Linked DNA regions of Homo sapiens: region 2 is linked to region 1. Evidence: promoter capture Hi-C in human tissues and cell types (Jung and others, 2019). All regions are on one chromosome and are shown on one strand. The core of a region is centred on a gene start or on the middle of the fragment in contact, and the rest is flanking DNA. Distances in the headings are between cores, read along the strand shown. Region 1 holds the start of PRELID2 (PRELI domain containing 2). Region 2 overlaps SH3RF2 (SH3 domain containing ring finger 2).

Region 1 (6,661 bases), core at 4,162-6,661:
AAGTTGAGGACTCAGTCCCACAAGATCACTCCGCTGTCCCCACCGTCCCCCATTCAGATGTTAGTTGCAAGTCTTGGCCTCCAGAACTTCTGACTGACCCACTTCAAGATGGGCTTCCCATGATCCTCTCTTTGGATTCAGTTAATTTACTAGAGCAGCTCATAGAACTCAGGGAAACACTTACTTCCATTTACCAGTTTATTATAAAGGATAGTACAAAGGATGTAGCTGAAGAGATGCATAGGGCAAGGTATAGGGGAAGAGGCATGGAGCTTCCATGCCCTCCCTGGATGCACCATCCTCCAGGAATCTCCATATGTTTGGCTAGCTGGGAGCTCTCTGAACCCTGTTCTTTTGGGTCTCTTAGCAAGACTCCATTGGATAGACATGATTGAAGATAACCAGGTAGAAATACGATTAGGCAAAAAAGGATATGATATAATACTAACAGACTGAGTCAGGAAACCTAGTAAGGCCCGCCTGTCTAGATTCTTCTTGGCCTTCCTGTGCAGCATTTCTTCCTGCAGGGTATGGGGTGGGACACTCTCTGGAATGAGAAATCAATCAGAAAAGCCAGGAAAGATTAGAGTCCTGCCTTGGGCAGGTGAAGGGAAGTCAGAAGAAGGTCGGAGAGAGAAAAGCCTGCTTCTGAGGCCTAAAGTGTCCCAATACTATAGCAAAAGACTGTAGCAAGGGCTATGGGAGTTATCAGCCAGGAACCATGAATCTATATTTATACGTGGAGGAGTGGAGTTTAGTGAGGAGTGGGAGTTGGGGAGGAAATTTTACATATATATATGTAAAATATCATACCTCTTAATTGGTCTCTTTCTTTGCTTTGCCTCCCCATAGTCACTTCTCCAAACTGTAAGTAGCCAGAATGATTCTGTTAAAATATACAGTTGAGATCATGTCTCTCCTCTGCTCAAAACTCTCAATGGCCTCCCATCTCATACAGATAAAGCCAACATCTTTACCATGGCCTGGAGGACCCTATGTGACCTAGATTCATGTTTTCTGACCTTATATCTCAGGAACTCTGCAACAGCCATACTGGCCTCCTTGTAGCTCTGAAATGTATCAGGAGAATGCCTGTTTCAGGTCTTGGAACCTGCCATTCCTTCTACGTGGAATGATCCTCCTCCAAATACGAGCATGACTTGCCCTCCTCTTCTTGCAACTTTTCTACTTTAATGTCATTTTCTCAGAGAGGTCTTCCTTAGCTCTTTTAAAAAATTTTAACACTGCTCCTCTCTCCCCTGCCCTGCCATCACTTCTCATCCTTCTTCTCCAGTTTTTGTCTCCTTAGTACCCACGCTTACTTATCATACATGATATTTTACATATTTGAATCTATTCTGATACTTTGCTTTGTTTTCCTTGCAAATTCTCATTCTGTACCCTGGTTTCAATAACTATATCCCTGTTCCCTGCCTTGGCTTGTGTCTCTAGCTCACATCTCAAATGTCAGGTTGCTGGATTTTAGAGACAGTCTTGGCCCACTCAGTTTCTGCCCCTGCATTTCAGTTTTTGTTGACGGAAAAACTGAGCTGCAGGGGCAGGAAGGATTTTGTTCAAGGTCATATTTTATATTAAGTACATTCGTGAGTTTATTCAACATATACTAGGTGCCAAGCATTTTACTAGGCACTGGATAGAGAGGAGTGAATAATATATGCAGTTCCTCCAGTCTTGAGAATGTCACAGTAACAGTGATTTATATATACAGATAATTATAAGACTGGATACAAAAAATCAGTGATAGAGAGATGGTCAGGATGGTCAGAAGAGGGAATTGAACCAACATGAAGAAGGTGAGAAAAGCAGAGAGACAGGGTCAGGGCTGGAGTTCTGTGTCACTTAAATCTTGCAGCATTTACAATCATTCATTCATTCATTCATTCAACCTAAATGTATTGGATGTCTACCATGTTTAAACTATTGTGCCTCCCTGTGAAGATACAAAAGGTATTTGATATCTTATGAAAGTTCTTTAGTAAGATATTTGGTATCTTAAAGACCAAATAAGGTCATGAACTTCTAAGGTTTGCCAGCAAATTTCCACCCTCAAGTCCCTGCCCAGTTAAGCCAACCAATTTCAAAGCGATGGAAATTTGTTTCACAGTTTCTTCTCGCTCCCTCAGAGGACCCAGCAAGTAAGATTACTGTTGTGCAAACTGGCTGTGATTCAGAGCTACAAGATAATAGGCTCATGTTGTCAAGTCTGGCACACGTTTCAGAAAGCCCCAACGTCCTTGGAATGGGCAGGTCACATTTGTTCTTACACAAGTCACTCAGCCAACCAGCCCCAAGTAGAGGTTGCAGGTGGTGGGGCCTTTAATCTTTCAGGACACACCATTGGCCTTTCATGGTTACTTAATCCGGAGATTAAGTCCTGCTTAAAGATACACTCTGGGAGAAACTGATGGTCAGAGTGGATTGAGGATACAGGGCCCAGGACCTACGCTAGCAGGGGGTTTGTATGTCACATCTGGTCTCCAGCTACTCTGGTAAAAGAGGCAGATACAAAATACCATAAACTCTGCAGGTAATTGATCTCTCCTTTGTGGACCTGTGTAGTCTCCCTGGAAGACTGCTTTTTGTTTTCCTGTAAGGAGGGATTGGTGATATAGTGGAGTGGCTTTTAAACATGCATCCAACACATGTAAGAGCATTTGCATCTCATTCTCCTCTCCACTCCTCCCTCTGTATTTCAAGGAAATGCTGCTTACAGGCTTAGTAAGGTGGGGATTAAGAATTAATTATTGGATTTAGCAATTTGGTCATTGGTGACCTTGACAACAGTCGTTTCGGTGAAGTGGTGGGGGCAAATACTGATTGGAATGGGCTCAAGAGATTACAGGCAGCTCTTTTGAGGAGCATCAGTGGACCAGAGACTCGGAATACAGCTGGAGGAAGATAGGGGGTTAAGAGTTGTTTTTTTTGTATTGTTTCTGTTTTTGTTTTTAGATGGAAGAAATTACAGTGTACTTGTTGTGCTGGCTGGAATGGCCCAGTAGAGACAAAAGCTGATGATACAGAAAGGAAGGGGGATATTGCTAGAGAGATGGCCTTGAACAAGAAAGAGGACAGGAACTTTTAGTGATGTACTAGAGCTGGCCATTCAACACAGCTATTATTAAAGTATATAAATTTACAATCACATATAAAAATTAATAAATATTTATTTATTTGAGATGGGTCTCACTCTGTGGCCCAGGCTGGAGTGCATGGCACGATCATAGTTCACTACAGCCTTGAACTTCCGGATTTAATAGAGCCTCTGGCCTTAGCCTCTCAAGTAGCTAGGACTACAGGTGTGCACTGCCACACCTGGCTAATTTTTTATTTTATTTTTTGTAGAGATGGGGTTTCACTATGTTGCCTACACTGGCCTCAAACTCTTGGCCTCAAGTGATCCTTCTGCCTTGGCCTCCCAAAGTGCTGAGGTTACAGGCATGAACCATAGGAGCCTGGCCAAAGAGTAATAAACATTGAAAACTCATCCCTTCCTGCTACATTTTCCATTATTTATGTTTTTGGTTCTTTATGGCTGTCGTATGTGGGTGGTGGAAATACTATGTGATGGTGTGCTTCTGTGCTTCCCTCCCCAACTCCCACTCCTCACTCAACTCCATGTTGCTAAATCCCCAACTTGTGTTTAGTGACATCGAGTTGGCATCTTTAAACATGGTAGGAGTATTTACACCACAGGAATCAGCAACCTTTGGAAATCAGGGCCTTGCTTGATTTATACTTTAAAGGACAGCTATTTGTTAAACATTTTTCAGTTCACCTCAGGATTCAGTGGACAAATGGAGACACTGGTGCTAAAACAAAGTGCTGACAGTTCACCCACAGGAACAAGAGTGAAGGCAAGGCATTTGGTCTGGTGGGTAGAGAGGTGGCAGAGCGATGTGACCTATTGACTAAGTGAAAATGGAAGTAAGGTAATGACTGGAGTATAAGGCTGGGAACAAAGGTGTCAGAGGTGTGGAGGAATGCGGGAGAGTAAGTGGATTAGAGAAATTCAGTACTCTCTTTTTTTTTTTTTTTTGAGATGGAGTCTTGCTCTTGTCGCCTAGGCTGGAGTGCAATGGGCGAGCTCTGCTCACTGCAACCTCCGTCTCCCGGGTTCAAGCGATTCTCCTGCCTCAGCCTCCGGAGTAGCTGGGACTACAGGCGCCCGCCATCACGCCTGGCTAATTTTTGTATTTTTAGTAGGGACAGGGTTTCACCATGTTGGCCAGGCTGGTCTGGAACTCCGGACCTCAGGCGATCCGCCCACCTTGGCCTCCCAAAGTGCTGGGATTACAGGCGTGAGTCACCGCACCCAGCCAGAAATACAGTACTTTCATAGTGTATTTGTCTGGCACCATTAAAAGGCGCCATAGGGTTAGTGGTTATGAACTTAAAAGATGCACAGTGGGTGTGTATTTTCCTTCAGCCCCTTCTGGTGGCTTGGGTAGAGACAGTCAGAGGAGACCTAGATTTACACAAGGCTAGGGTTTTGCCAGACCAGTGTGACTGCGTATGGCAGGGGCGAGCGAGATGGCAAAATCGTAAAAGTCATCACCTCAGAGACCCTCCATAATCACCCTCACTAAAATCATGTCCGCGCCCGTGTCACTTTAACCGATTATTGTTTTTATTTTCCCAGCTTGTTGATTGGGTGTGAAATCAGCCGGCTCATCAGCAGAGCTGGTGTTTCCTCCCTGCGGAATCCGCAGTGCCCACTACAGCGCTGGGGCATAGGAGGCCTCAGAACCGTGCTGAATACACGGATTAACGTGCTGGTTCTCCTAACATCTGTTGGTTGCAGTAAATAATAATACTCGCAACTCTTTTGTATCCTCTAGTTCCTTGCTCCGTGGTGTTTAACCTTAGCGAGCAAAGGAACTTACCTGCAGGTTTTGGTGCACTAAAACGCGGTTCTTATTCCCGAGGCAATCTTTACCTTACACGAGGCCCAAACCCAAGCCTCAGAGGCAGCTGCCTGGTGGCATGAGTAATGCTGGCCTTTGTCACACCAGGCCTTCCTTATTAATACTTTTTTCCCGTGCTGCCAACCACGGCTTATTCTGTGACTCCAGGCGGTGATACCATAAACGCATAAGCCCAAGGTCCAGGTTTCCTGGGGCGGGGCGTGATGGCTCCCAGGCAGAGAAGCTTTTCTCGGCAGGCGCGGCCGCGGGAGGGCACCAGGGCCGCTCTGGCGCCGCCAGCGTGGAGACCGCGGGGCCCCGGGTGCTCTGGGAGCGCTCCAGCGCCTCCCGCGCTCTGTAACCCCAGGCCCCGGACTCTGGCAGTAGGGGCGTGGGCGTGGCCGACTGCGCGTTTCTCCGAGTGGCCAATAAAGTTTCGAAAGTTTGAAAAGCGGAGGAAAAAGGCCACGCCCATGTGGCTGTCCGAGTGTGGGCGCCTCCGGGCCTCTGCGGAGCCCTGGGCAGCTCTGAGCTCGCGGAGGCGTGGCCGGTGCGCGGGGCCCGCGGCGCGCGGGGATGGGGGTCTCGGTGGATGTGCACCAGGTGTACAAGTACCCCTTCGAGCAGGTGGTCGCCAGCTTTCTCCGAAAGGTACCGCCCCGCTTCCACCTTCCGTATCCCGCGCTGCCTCCGCTGCTTGCCCCTCTCTCCTCTCCTTCATCCACGCGGAAGCTGGCACCGCCAGTGTCTCTTTCCAGCTGCGGGCTTTGCTTCAGGGATGTGTGGGTCGAGAGGGATTTCCTCGAAGACTCCCTTTACAGGGAGCGGGAAAAGGGGCCGTGCTTGGCATCACGTTCACACCTGCCCCAGCTGAAAGAAGAGGCTTTCCTTTTAGGAAGAGCCTCCGGGAATCCCAGCTCGTGAGCTCCGTGGAGTTGCAGATGACCGACGTGTGGAGCTTTCCGGTTCATCACTGACCCCTTAAAAGCGAGGGGAGGCCATTGGGCAGTCATCCTGGTTTACTCAGCATGATGGTTCTGCTGCCCCATCCGCTGCTCCTTATTAAACAGCTGTGGGACATCGTGCAGGTTGCTTACTCTCTTTGTGCCTTAGTTTGCTAATCTGTAAAATGGGGAAAATAATAGTACCGACTCATAGAGTTGTTGTGAGGATCCAAATGAGGTAACTTGTGTAAAGTGCTTAGCACAGTTGTGACCTAAATGAAGAAACTGAGGCAAAATCAATATAAAAAGAGAGTTCATTCGAGCCAAGTTTGAGGGCTGCATCCTGGGAGTGAAGGTGCCCTGAGTATACATTCTGATGAGCAGAAGTCGAAAGTGGGTTTTTAAAGGAGAATAAGAAGCACTTCCTAAGTTGTTTACCAAGAATTTATATTAAAATAACATAAACTATTGATTGTCTGTACATTGTTCTTTGTATCACAAATTCCAGGAACTTGAAGATAATGGGTAAGGCAGCTGGTCAGGAACAAAATGCCTTTAACCAGTTGCTCCCAGGAATGGGTTGGGTGAGGAGGGGACCACTAAAGTCCTATACTCTTGTCTCTCTGGGCTTGATTGATTTTGCATATTTCACTGTAACTCACACAATCTGCTCTGAGCTATTTTTCTTTTTCTCACTGCTACTGATGTTTAGTTAGGGCTCTAAAATGTTATTGTTGTTTGTATTACTACAACCGATTTCAATACAGATAATGAACTCTTCCTCAATACTGA
Region 2 (6,661 bases), core at 2,464-4,963, 190 kb before region 1:
AATTGTTTGGAAGTGCAGATGGGATGGTGTCCTCCCAGGCATCCAGTGCTCCTTCTTCCCTACAGGGCCCAAAGTGACCAGGCACACACATTCTCACAAAGGCATTAGGGACCTCAGAAGTGGCTAGACCAGAGGAGGGTGTTTGCTTTTTAAAGGAAGAGGCCAATCTTTTAGCCCAGGGATCTGCAAACTCTCTAAAGGGCTAGAAAGTAAATCTTTCAGGCTTTGTGCAAGGTCTCTGTCACTACTGCCTAACTGTTTCCTTCTAGTGTGAAAGCAGCCATTGATGTTATGTAAAGAGTGAGCCTGGCTGAGTACCAATAAAACTTTATTTTTGGACAATGAAAATACAATTTTATATAATTTTCACAGCATGGAGTTTTATTCTTTTGATTTTCACCCCCCACCCCTGCCCCCCAATAAATTCAAAATCACATCTGTAAAAGCCATTCTTAACTTTCTGGCCATATGAAAACAGGCAGCAGGTGCATTTGGACCATAGGCTGTAATTTGCTAATTCTGTTATAGCTCAAAGAAATGAATGAACAGTGGATAATTTCCAGATGCCAATAGCAGAAATAGTTTAGGGGTTAGTCCTCCTAGTGACCTGGTTACTGCTTTCTCTACAGACGTAGACAGATGAGGGCCCAGCAAGCGCCTAATCCCGGGCACAGGGAATCAATTGGATTTTGAAAATACAGGATAGGTGTTCTCTGACCTCATCAGTGTCCTGCCTCCTTGAAACGAATGCAGACAAATGATTAAAGTAGTAAACTCTCTCCGTGCTCCAGTGTGTCTGGTTCAAATCTGTTTAGGGTTTGTCACCTGAGTATATGCTCCAGGCCTAGCAAAGAATAGGGCCTCAGTAAATCTTCACTGAATGAAACGACATGGGCACATGGGCACATGGTAGACACACCATATTTGTGAGCAGAAGCAAGGAAGCAGCAAGATTTCTCTCATCAGTACTGGCTCAGGTCAAGTCAAAGGCAGTGGGGGAAGGCACAAGGGCTCAGTTAGGCAGCTTGAGCAGCCCAGAGAGTAGGAAAGATTTGTTCTCATTTCTGACTCTGCCCTTTTTGTCCTCAGAGTTGCCCTATACTCAGCGTGAGAAAACAGGGCTTCCCTAGCTGAAGTGTCTTGGAAACAGACAAACTGGTGCTTGCAATATTCTTTGCATACGTAACCAGTTTTTATTTCGCATTTAGTTGTGCAATTTTCCATCAGGGCTTGATTGTTTTGGGATGGGAAGAGAGGGAGAAGAATGGATATTACATATCCCAAAGCTTGTGCATTGAGATACAATAAATGGTTTTTTTCTTTGATGAAAGAAAATGGTCAATTTTCTTGGAGTTTTCTCTTTATCTTTCTTTTGTTTTCTTTTCTTAACACACTGTCATTTATCAAAAATAAAGTTCCTGAGGCATTCACAGAGGGTTGTGATATAGGGGCCCATATCTTGTTTTTCTATGAAAACAATGGAAGAACATGCCCCTTTTGTGCCCTCTGTAGAAACTCTTCCTTAGGAAGAAGGCCTGATTTTCAGCTTATGTGCAGAGAAAGCAAATAGCACAGAAGCTTGTTTGCTGAACAAATCCAGATGTACCCCGAGCCCAGCATGGCCCCCAGGGAGTGCCCAATAGAATGATATGGAATCACCGAGTCTCAGATGATGGGCCTATGTGGGGATGGCAAACACACGGCACATGCACCCATTTCCTACTCCTGGGCCCGCAACAGACATGGATAATTGATCCCTTTATTCCTTCCCACTGAGTCTGGTTGCTGTCCCAGAATCTCTCCTCAATCATCTCTGGGGACAATTGAGTTAGCATGTGAGATGCCCCACTACTCCCACTGCTTGGGCAGGGAAAGAGCATGGGCCCGGAAGACAGCCAGACCTGGGTTCTGACAAAAACTCTGAAATGCACTTGCTAACTGAACTAGATACTTAGCCTCTCTGAGTCTCAGTTCCTCCATCTAAAATGGAAAGAAGTAACAACGATTAACAATACTCACAGAGGATGTAAGACTGTGGCACTGGGTCTGTCACAAAATGAGTTCCTTTTTTTCTTGGAGCTGAGTGGGAATGGAAAGTGGGCCTGAATTATGTATTTATTGTGCCTTTGTTTATTGTTGTGGGGGTATGTTTCTCTGCACAATTTGTTTTTCTTTTCACTACATATGTATGTTTCTCTGCACAATATGTTTTTCCAACAATCCACTCAACGCACAGGTCCTTTCAGCTTCTCCAGCTAGGAGCGCGTTCGTGTTTTGGCGCATTTCCAGGGACAGGGCACAGGCAAGTCTCCCCATCCTACCTGTGGGAAGTGTCAGGTTTCCCCAAAGCCCTTCTATTCTCCCATGTGTTTGAGAAGAGTGGTCTGCTGGGGCTATTCAGAAAGGGCATCTTTTTCACACAGCCCTTGACTTAACTGCCCTTTATTCTGCATTTACTACAAGCCAGACCCTGTGCTACATTCTGCACATCAGCTGTTCTCAGCGGGAGGCAACTTTGACCCTGCGGAACATTTGGTAATGTCTGTTGTTGCCACAGGTGGGTGGGTGGTGGTGGTGGGTGCTACAGGCATCAGTGGGTAGGGGCCGGGGATGCCGCTAAAAACCCCACAATGCCCAGGGCGGCCGCCGCAACAATGATCTTGCTCAAAATGCCAATAGTGCTGAGGCTGAGAAAGCCTTCTGTATGCGAGTATCTCATTCATCTCCTAACAGGTCTGTGTGGAAGACGCTATTAATTTTCCCATTTGAGATGGTGAAACTGAGGTCTTGCAAGGTTGAGCCACTTGGCTGAGGCCACTGCACCATCAAGGTCTGTCTGTGCCCACATGTCTATACTACCCTCTTTGTTCCCAGAATGCTACCCTGTTACATTGCTTTTCCCTTTCTTTTGCCCTTCTGTTTTATTTTGCTTCTCTTGTCTTCCTTTCTTGTTGAATTATCTCTGTGTGTGTGTGTGTGTGTGTGTGTGTGTGTGTGTGTGTGTGTGTGTTGCAGGCCTCATTGGCCTTGGATATCAATGTCCCCTGCTCCCAGCTCCCAGAGCTATAGTGTCTACATTAAAATGTCTGAGGTACAGGCTAGGCCGCTCCCTTTTCCACCCGGGCAGGGTTGGGTCGTCTCAGTGACTCACCTGCCAGGATTAATTGGGCAAAACGATGATGTAAAGTTTAACCTCTTGCTGGAGAAATGCTGAATCAAGGAAGTAAGCAATGTTAATTATCGAACCTGCTTTAGTCACCAGAAACCAGACCGAGGACCTCGGGGAGGTTGGGCAGGGCTGAGGATCTAAGTACTGCAGAAGTCACTGTGCCCCAGGAGTACTGGCGCTTTCTGGAGTGACCTCAGTAGAAAGGCAACTGGGCTGCAGCGCTAAGGAGAGGTGTGTGCAGAACCTCAGCTCGCTTCCTTTTTTCACCTGGCTGACTGCTATCAGCTTCCAGGTTTTCACCTGAAGATCACTTCTTCCAGGCAGGCTTCTCTGACTTTCTAGACTAGGTGGACCCTCCATTACATACTCCCTTCATCTCCCATAATTGAACCTCACTAGCACTTTGCACGCTTAATACCTTGTAATCAAGTATGTTAATAATTTGTTTAGTTTTTGTCTTCCCTGCTAGCTTGGAGGTTCCATGGCTGTAGCAACCATGTCTGTCTTGTTCACTGTATCACCTGTGCCCAGCTCAGTGCCTGGTGGGCATTCGACAACTCTGTTGACTGGTTCACTGACAGGCTGTGAGGGGCTTTGGCAACTAGGATTCACAATGGGCTTTGGACGCTTGCCAGGTGAGGACAGCATTCCCAGAAAAAACTGCGAGGTGTGTATAGGAAATGGTGGACAGATGACTGGCTCTGCCTCAGTCTCTATCTTTGACTTTTTTATCCAAAGTCTTTTTTTTCCTGCATTCATTTTTGGCTTCTCTCACATGGGTTCACACGGAATTACAGTATGAACTAAGCAAGTGCAATTGTCCCAAGAGTCACACTCCTTCCCTAATTCTGGAATTGTCACTGCTTATCAAGAAAGCAAAGGGGCTTTTGGAAGCCTTTGCACTTCAAAGCAGGCTCCAACAGATCATCTCTGAAGCATGTGGCTGATCAAGCTCATTCTCAGTAGGGCCTGTTTGTATAGGCTGGCCCTGGGGCAGTGGGGATGGGAGATGGTTTTAGCTTCCTGGCTTGACCCAATGATAATAATAACAACAGAGTGAACATTTATTGAGCCATTTACCACTCCTAAACCCTGGCCATTATCTCATGTATAAGCATTGCCTTGTTTTATCCTCGCAGCCATCTTATGAAAATTACCATCATTAGTCCCATTTTACAGATATAAAAACTGAGGCTCAGACGGAGTAAAGTATCTTGCCCAAGGTTATACTGTTTGGTAAGAAGCAGTGTGAGTTCCGTCCTAGATCTAGCTGACCCCAAAGCCCATATTTTTATTTCCTTACTATACTGCCTGTGCTGAGAAGCTCTTTGCCTCAGAGAATAGCTCTACCCAATACCTGCGGGGCCTGACAAAACTTTGCACCAGACAGAAAGAAAACAGGTCTGTTGTGTAAATGTGTGCTCCCGCAGAAGACAGGAAGAATCACAACAATAACCATGATTCATTAAATAATAGAAACAGCTCTTTCCCTGTGTTACCTATCTTCAGAGTGTGCTGTTAGCCAATTAACGCACATAATACTCTGCCAAGCCACTTTTGTCATTCCAATGAGAAAACTGGGACCCAGACAGGCAAAACCCTTTGTCCAGGGCTATACAGTTAACTGTGGGAGTGCTAGGATCACATTCTTTGAGGCCTCGCTCGTGATGTATCTATCACCTTTCTTGTGCAAATAAAGGTTACTGCCACCTGGGACTATGTGGCTCAAAGATGTTATATATTGTAGGGACTATTAGTTATATTTTAAATTATAATTCATGTGTTTATTTAATTTTTGGGGGAAGACCTTGAGTCTGTTAAGGAAGTACCTTTTCCTGCCAGTGTTTTACATATAAGAGGCAAGATCACCCCCTCCTCCATATCTGTTAGTAGTTGTGAAAAACTATACCTTAAAACATTCAGATTGGAATGATCATTTAGATTTTAAAACGTTTGGCCCATTCCCTGTGTTAATTCAGGGTTCTCCCCAGTCACACAAATGACAGATTCTAAAAGCTCCCCTTGGAGGAAAGAGGGGGAAGGTAATAGCAATGGCTGCAGCTTGAGTTATTGCTACCATTGCCAAGACCCTGCATGGAAGGAGTTATCCCAGTTTGCAGATGAGTACACTGAGGCTTATTGGGGTTAGATACTTAATTTCAATGTCATTTAGTTACCAGATGGCAAAGCCATGACAAGAAGCTTTGCCTGACTCAAAACCTTTTTGTTTGTACTAAGCTACCTTCCTCTGTAGAATAAATACAAACCAAACCAAACACAATAAAAACAACAACAGAATCCATAGATTCCACTTCAGCATTGGCAGTATTTAGTTTCCAGCAGTCTATGCGGTAGGAGAGATTTCTCATTGTACTTCCTTAAATCCTTCATGTTTTGATTTATGTTCCTTTTCTCTTCAGAACACAGGAAAATAAAACTGGTATAGAAATGCAAGTTTGGAAAAACAAAGTCATCATTCAACCCCACATCAATCTTTTCTTCTCCAAGCTGAACAAACTTGGGCCTCTTTCTCCTGATCTTGGCTCAAGTGTGGGAACCAGACCTCAGGAAGGCAAGGGAGGGAACATGTGGGCCAAGGAGGCCTGGACTGGGGGCCAGCCTACGGCAGTGGCAAGGATGTAAACAAGGCGACTGCACAGGCAGGCAGTAAGATTAGCCCAGCTGGCAGTGGCCAGTGGAAAAAGGGGTGGCTGTTCAGTGATGGCAAACATGCCATGCGGGAAGGTGGTGAGAAATGAATCTTGTCTTTGAGCTAGGGGAATGCCCAGGAACAAATGAGAGAGACAGAGAGAGAGGTTAAGAATATGAACTTTGGACTCCCCAATATATGCTGAGGGATTATGATGTGTAGGTGTGGAGATCAATAGTGAGATAAAGCTCACAGTGCTGTGTCTTACAAATAGCTCAATATTATGGAAGAATTGTGGCATAAAAAAATTCAGGAGTGACAGATTTGGAACACCATCATTTTGCAACCCCTAATGAAATAATGTTCAAACCACCCGGTAAAAGGCTAATGGGGACCCATTTAATGGATGGAGCAGGCTGACACTTGAATAGAATCAATTTTAATACAAAAAGGGAGGCAGTTAGGCATTATGTGCTTCCTGATGTGTTGCTATAAAAAGTACTTAATTTTTAACATGAGTGTAAATATAACAAAATGGGAAAAAATAGTCTTTTTCAGTAAATGATGCTGGAACAACTTCATATCTACAGGTAGAAGAATGCATCTGGATCCCTATCTCACAACATACATAGAAATTAACTCCAGCTGGATCATAAAATCTAAACATTAGAGTAAAAACTGTAAGCTCTTAGAAAAAAATGCAGTGATAAATACTTATGAATTTGAATTAGACACTGGTTTTTAGATATGACAACAAAAGCACAAGCAACAAAGGAAAGAGTAGATGTGATGAAAAGCTTTTGTGCTTCAAAGGACACACCTAGAAAGTGAAAAGGCAACAC

The links. The method cuts DNA at HindIII sites, captures the fragments that hold promoters and counts their contacts. A contact is called where the count stands out against the background at its distance.
Region 2: a contact is called between a fragment that was not itself captured here and the fragment with the promoter of PRELID2 in region 1, in 1 of the 25 tissues and cell types used here (heart left ventricle).

Annotation. Positions count from the first base shown.
Region 1 is chr5:145,834,092-145,840,752 of GRCh38, reverse strand. It overlaps PRELID2 (PRELI domain containing 2), which reads left to right and starts at 5,411. Exons shown (of 7, transcript NM_205846.3): 1 at 5,411-5,576. The coding sequence starts at 5,502. RefSeq lists a silencer at 5,100-5,219. The HindIII fragment of the contact is 8,273 bases long and covers 365-6,661 here.
Region 2 is chr5:146,024,513-146,031,173 of GRCh38, reverse strand. All of the region lies in intron 5 of SH3RF2 (SH3 domain containing ring finger 2), which reads right to left. The region is part of intron 1 of LOC107986458 (a long non-coding RNA gene); the gene reads left to right. Among named protein-coding and RNA genes, the nearest start is that of PLAC8L1, 78 kb to the left of the region's middle. RefSeq lists enhancers at 2,322-3,521, 3,543-4,336, 4,337-5,132. The HindIII fragment of the contact is 4,562 bases long and covers 1,433-5,994 here.